2 separate regions of the Homo sapiens genome follow, and region 2 is linked to region 1. The links are contacts of gene promoters, found by promoter capture Hi-C in human tissues and cell types (Jung and others, 2019). All regions are on one chromosome and are shown on one strand. Each heading gives the region's core, a stretch centred on a gene start or on the middle of the fragment in contact. The rest is flanking DNA. Distances are from core to core; before and after follow the strand shown.

Region 1 (2,840 bases), core at 126-2,625:
ACGCGGTGGCTCACGCCTGTAACACCAACACTTTGGGAGGCCAAGGCAGGCGGATCGCGAGGTCTGGAGTTCAAGACAAGCCTGGCCAACATAGTGAAACCCCGTCTCTACTAAAATACAAAAAATTAGCCCGGCATGGTGGCGGGCATCTGTAATCCCAGCTGCTTGGAAGGCTGAGGCAGGAGAATTGCTTGAACCCGGGATGCGGAAAGAAAAGAAAAAAAAAGAAAGAAAAGGAAGGAGGGAAAGAAGGAAGGAAGGAAGGAAGGAAAGAAGGAAGGAAAGAAGGAAGGAAGGAAGGAAGGAAGGAAGGAAGGAAGGAAGGAAGGAAGGAAGGAAGGAAGACAAAATATAACATTGAATACACGTTGTTTTTCAAACTGCACATACAACCCACATTTTGACTCAGGCCTCTGGGGCGAGGGGGTACACACACACACACACATCCCAGTCACTGTCCTAGGCTCTCCAGCCATGAGATTTTCCGGCCCAGCCCCAACCCCGACCTAAGTAACCGGCTATCGGCCACCCATTGGCTGAAGTCCCTGAGCACCTGTTGGGAGGAAGGCTGCTGCGTGCAGCCGGAAAGTCCTGCGTCCCTCCGCTCTTACCGCGGCAGGAACCACAGCCTCCCCGAACCTCAGGGTTTGTATGGATTTCGCCCAGGGGAAAGCGCTCCAACGCGCGGTGCAAACGGAAGCCACTGGCTGGTTGGGCGGCTGTGATGGGAGAGCTGCATCCTTCCAACGCGTCCAGCTTTTCATGCTGATGTTGGTGAGAAGGGGGTGGATAGCGGGGATTCTCAGGATTAGGGCCTAGGGCCATTAAAGGCTGGGAGGTGGGGGCGTAAACCTGTGGCCACCCTGACCCCTGTCCTCGGGGGGCCTCACCACCAGGCCGAGGAGACCCAGGCCTGGTCACCTGCTCCAAGCCCAGGCCCGGCGCTCGAATGCGGGCCCCAGCGGCCCTCCCTTCCCGGCCCTTCTCTCCCCTACTTTCTCCTCACCTCCCAGCTGCGCGGAGAACACGCCCCCTCCCCGTGTTCCCACCAATCAGCGTCCGGAGCGGCGCCCGAGGCGCCGGGGGGCTCTGGTCTGCAGCCAATGAGCGCCACGGCTCGAGGCGGCGCCTCGCCCGCCCCCTCCCGGAATGAAGGCCGCCCGACAGCTGGCGAGGCTGGCGCAGCGCGCGGGGCGCGGGAGCCGCGCGGGCTGGAGCGGAGCGCGCACACAGCCAGCCCGCCTCCGCTCCGCCTCCGTCCGGGGCGCGGGCGAGGTGGCCGGGGCGGGGGAACGCAGGGGGCAGGGCCGCGGCGGCGAGGCCGGGGGGCGGGGAGGAGTGGGCCCGATAAAAGGCGGCGCGGCGGCCCCACCCCGCGGCAGGCCGGCGGGCAGGCTCGGCGTGTCCCTTCCGTCCGGCCCGCGCCGGCGGCGGGGAGGCGGCGCGCGGCCCGCAGCCCGCCCATGGAGGCTTTCCCCTGGGCGCCCCGCTCGCCCCGCCGCGGCCGCGCCCCCCCGCCCATGGCGCTCGTGCCCAGCGCCCGCTACGTGAGCGCCCCGGGCCCGGCGCACCCGCAGCCCTTCAGCTCCTGGAACGACTACCTGGGGCTCGCCACGCTCATCACCAAAGCGGTGGACGGCGAGCCGCGCTTCGGCTGCGCCCGCGGTGGGAACGGCGGCGGCGGCTCCCCGCCCTCCTCCTCCTCGTCGTCCTGCTGCTCCCCCCACACGGGGGCCGGGCCTGGGGCGCTGGGGCCGGCGCTGGGGCCGCCCGACTACGACGAGGACGACGACGACGACAGCGACGAGCCGGGGTCCCGGGGCCGCTACCTGGGGAGCGCGCTGGAATTGCGCGCGCTGGAGCTGTGCGCGGGCCCCGCCGAGGCCGGGCTGCTGGAGGAGCGCTTCGCCGAGCTGAGCCCGTTCGCGGGTCGTGCCGCCGCCGTGCTGCTGGGCTGCGCGCCCGCCGCCGCCGCCGCCGCCACCACCACCAGCGAGGCGACGCCGCGCGAGGAGCGGGCCCCGGCGTGGGCGGCCGAGCCCCGGCTGCACGCGGCCTCCGGGGCGGCGGCCGCCCGGCTGCTGAAGCCCGAGCTGCAGGTGTGCGTGTTCTGCCGGAACAACAAGGAGGCGATGGCGCTCTACACCACCCATATCCTCAAGGGCCCCGACGGGCGAGTGCTGTGTCCCGTGCTGCGCCGCTACACGTGTCCCCTGTGCGGCGCCAGCGGCGACAACGCGCACACCATCAAGTACTGCCCGCTCTCCAAAGTGCCGCCGCCGCCCGCCCGCCCGCCGCCCCGCAGCGCCAGGGACGGCCCGCCTGGCAAGAAGCTGCGCTGAAGGCCCGGGCTCCCGGCCGCCCAGGGTCGCCGCCGCCCCTCGCACCGCTAGGTCTGCGCACCATCTCGCCCCCGCCGTGGGGAGGCGTGCGGCTCAGCGGTCGGCTCGACATGGGACGTCGTCCTGGTGGTTTTTGAAAAGCAGCCGACCGTGTGGAGTACTTCCGTGCTGAACGATTGGGACTAGACGCTGAAATCCCCATTTGTCTTCAGTTTCTAGTTTGCACATCCAGAACGGCGAAGGCTGGGTGTGTATTCCACTAACTGAAATATGGCAACTTAGAGGCGCTGTTTATTTACTGTATACGTCGACCTATTTTAGATGCGCATCAGTATGAAATTGTCTCAATCTTGGATGTTTCATTTTATGAATGGAGGCACTTTACTAGGTCTAGAATATTTTTTTAAAAGCCTCTGAACTGAGCTTAAAACTGGCGATTTTATGAAATGTCGGCAAAATGACTATTTTATTGTTTGAAGCGAGTTAATATTCTCAGTT
Region 2 (2,840 bases), core at 139-2,638, 620 kb after region 1:
AAGGGTCAACTGTACAGTAATCTGAAGTATGTAACCTGATGTTACATTTCTCTCAATCATTTCTCTCTTTCTTTCTCTCTCTTTCTTTTAAAGAGATAGGGTCTTGCTCTGTCGCTTAGGTTGGCATGAAGAGCAAAATCATAGCTCATGGCAGCTTCAAACTCCTGGGCTCAAATGAGCCTCCCACCTCAGCCTCCTGAGTAGCTGGGACTACAGGCATAAGCCACTGCACCTGGCTTATTTTTTGTTTATGCAGAGATGGGGGTCTTACTGTGTTGTCCAGGCTGGTCTCAAACTCCTGGACTCAAGAGGTCCTCCAGTCTTGACTTTCCAAAGTGCTGGCATTATAGGCATGAGCCATGGTGGCAAGCCCTCATCAGTTATTTTTCTATGATTCTGTCTCTCTGTCCCCTCCTTACAAGGAAAGTAATTTTGAAACAACCAATCCAGTCTTGGTTCTTTGTTTCTGCTTTCTTCAGCCCTTCTCTGTCTATAAAACCAACCTCTTCTGCTCAGCTCATGGGAGCACTTATTCTAATTTAATGGAGATGTTGCCCAATTTCTAGAATCACAAATAAGATCTTTAACAATAAAAGTTAAAAAATGAAAATCAACAACAACAACAACAAAAAAGATCTTTAAATGTGTTGTAATTTTCTCCTTTGACAGGTTACAAGTGCAATTGAATAAACCAAACAAAAAATGTCATGGTTATTCGGTCTTTACTTCCCAAATCAGGGTCAAGATATAAGATAGCAAGAACCAATCTCTACCATAAAAAAGATCCAGACCCAAGAAAATGTGATTTATCTTTAAAGCTGCAACGAAACTTTCTTTTTAGTCTAGGAGACTAAAAGCCATCAGTTGATACAATCTCTTTTTTTCTTGAAGTTTCCAAAGGAAGGCAGGTGAGTTTGCACTGACTTCCATTTTCTCCCTGGCTTCCTTCCGGTGTCAGATGAGAGTCCCCGCGCTCCTCCCGGACAGCCCTCAGGGTCCTCGGCTATCATATATGGGGGAGGGGGTGGAGGTGGGCGAGATGGTTTTGTTTGTACAGGAAGGACGGGCGGCAGGCACGGGGAGCACGGGCTCCGGCCCCGGGAACACTCACTCGGCGCAAAGGAGAGGGAGAGAGCGACTATGAAAGCCGAAACCCGCCCGGGGCGCACGGAGGACGGCCCCAGTCCAGCTCGTCCGGCTTCCCACCCGCAGGCGGACCCCGAAGCCGCGCCCGCGCCCGCCCGCGGCGACTCCGGCCCGGGCACGCGCACGAGTCGGAAGGGGGAGGGGCGGGAGGAGGTGGGGGAGGGGCGAGCGGGCCGAGGCCCCGCCCCCGCTCCTCTGCCCCGCCCGCCGCGATTATAGCCGATGACTCAGGGCGGAGCTCCGCATCCAACCCCGGGCCGCGGCCAACTTCTCTGGACTGGACCAGAAGTTTCTAGCCGGCCAGTTGCTACCTCCCTTTATCTCCTCCTTCCCCTCTGGCAGCGAGGAGGCTATTTCCAGACACTTCCACCCCTCTCTGGCCACGTCACCCCCGCCTTTAATTCATAAAGGTGCCCGGCGCCGGCTTCCCGGACACGTCGGCGGCGGAGAGGGGCCCACGGCGGCGGCCCGGCCAGAGACTCGGCGCCCGGAGCCAGCGCCCCGCACCCGCGCCCCAGCGGGCAGACCCCAACCCAGCATGAGCGCCGCCACCCACTCGCCCATGATGCAGGTGGCGTCCGGCAACGGTGACCGCGACCCTTTGCCCCCCGGATGGGAGATCAAGATCGACCCGCAGACCGGCTGGCCCTTCTTCGTGGACCACAACAGCCGCACCACTACGTGGAACGACCCGCGCGTGCCCTCTGAGGGCCCCAAGGTGAGCCGGGCCCGCGGCCCGCCCTGGTCGGTGGCGCCACCTCGACGGCAGGCGGCGGGGAGTGGGCTGGGCCGGGGGGACGCGAGGCGGCGGGGCCCGGGGGTCGGCGAAGGCCCCTCGCGGGCGGACACCGGCTCCGCGCCCCGCCACACACTCCCGCTGCGCCCGGACGAGTCCCCGCTCCGGACCCGCCCTTGACAGGCGTCGGGGCGAAAGGAGGCCCCGGGATTCGGTGGCCCGGGAAGCGACCCCGCAGTGGCTCCGGTGCCGTCCACGGCTCGACTCCAGGGCGGAAGGCCGGGTGTCCAGCGCTGGCCTCGCGCTCTAGGGCTGGGAGAGGGGCGGCCGGCCTGGTCAGCTCCGGAGGCCCCGGCCCACCGTGGCCCCTGCTGCCCGCTCGGCCTCCGGGCCCGGGACCCGCGGCGCACCCTGCTGACCGCGGACTCGAGGGGGACACTCGCAAGCTTGGATGGTGGTTTTGGGGGGAATTTTACCGCTCAAGTTCTCCAACTTGGTTGAGGGGTATCTTGGCTACTGTCCCATGTTAGGCACCCAATGACTCTGGAGGCTGGTGTCAAAACATTCATATATATATGTGTGTGTGTGTATTTTAAATTAAAATTGTATTATTGTTTGAAAGTGCTTTCAATATGAACGTATCCTAGTATGATTTGTAAAATAAAAAACAGGGTGTGCTTCTCCCCAGCAGTTTCTAGAGATCTAGACTAGAGATCTGAGACTGTCTTACAGTTGGCCATTGCCTTACCACATTGCCTCACACTGGAGAGAAAGAGAATGATACGTGTATATTTATAATGGCATTCGCTTCCTGCCTTGTTATGGTATTAAAATACTTAGGATTTGTTACCAGTACACAAATAACTGACTAATGATACTCTTGTGAATACAGCAGAAGTATGTCTCATTTACATACATGCAAGGATATATACTTCTTAATCCCCAAGAGCATGAAATT

The links. The method cuts DNA at HindIII sites, captures the fragments that hold promoters and counts their contacts. A contact is called where the count stands out against the background at its distance.
Region 2: the fragment with the promoter of BAG3 here is called in contact with the fragment with the promoter of NANOS1 in region 1 in 1 of the 25 tissues and cell types used here (IMR-90 fibroblasts).

What each region holds. Positions count from the first base shown.
Region 1 is chr10:119,028,339-119,031,178 of GRCh38, forward strand. NANOS1 (nanos C2HC-type zinc finger 1) reads left to right here and starts at 1,376. Exons shown (of 1, transcript NM_199461.4): 1 at 1,376-2,840. The coding sequence starts at 1,464. The coding sequence ends at 2,342. It overlaps LINC03036 (long intergenic non-protein coding RNA 3036), which reads right to left and starts at 1,233. Exons shown (of 4, transcript NR_186540.1): 1 at 1,007-1,233. RefSeq lists an enhancer at 653-1,153 and silencers at 978-1,447, 1,568-1,777, 2,148-2,447. The HindIII fragment of the contact is 19,263 bases long and covers 1-2,840 here.
Region 2 is chr10:119,649,992-119,652,831 of GRCh38, forward strand. It overlaps BAG3 (BAG cochaperone 3), which reads left to right and starts at 1,389. Exons shown (of 4, transcript NM_004281.4): 1 at 1,389-1,864. The coding sequence starts at 1,685. RefSeq lists enhancers at 527-1,481, 862-941 and a silencer at 1,142-1,441. The HindIII fragment of the contact is 7,134 bases long and covers 1-2,840 here.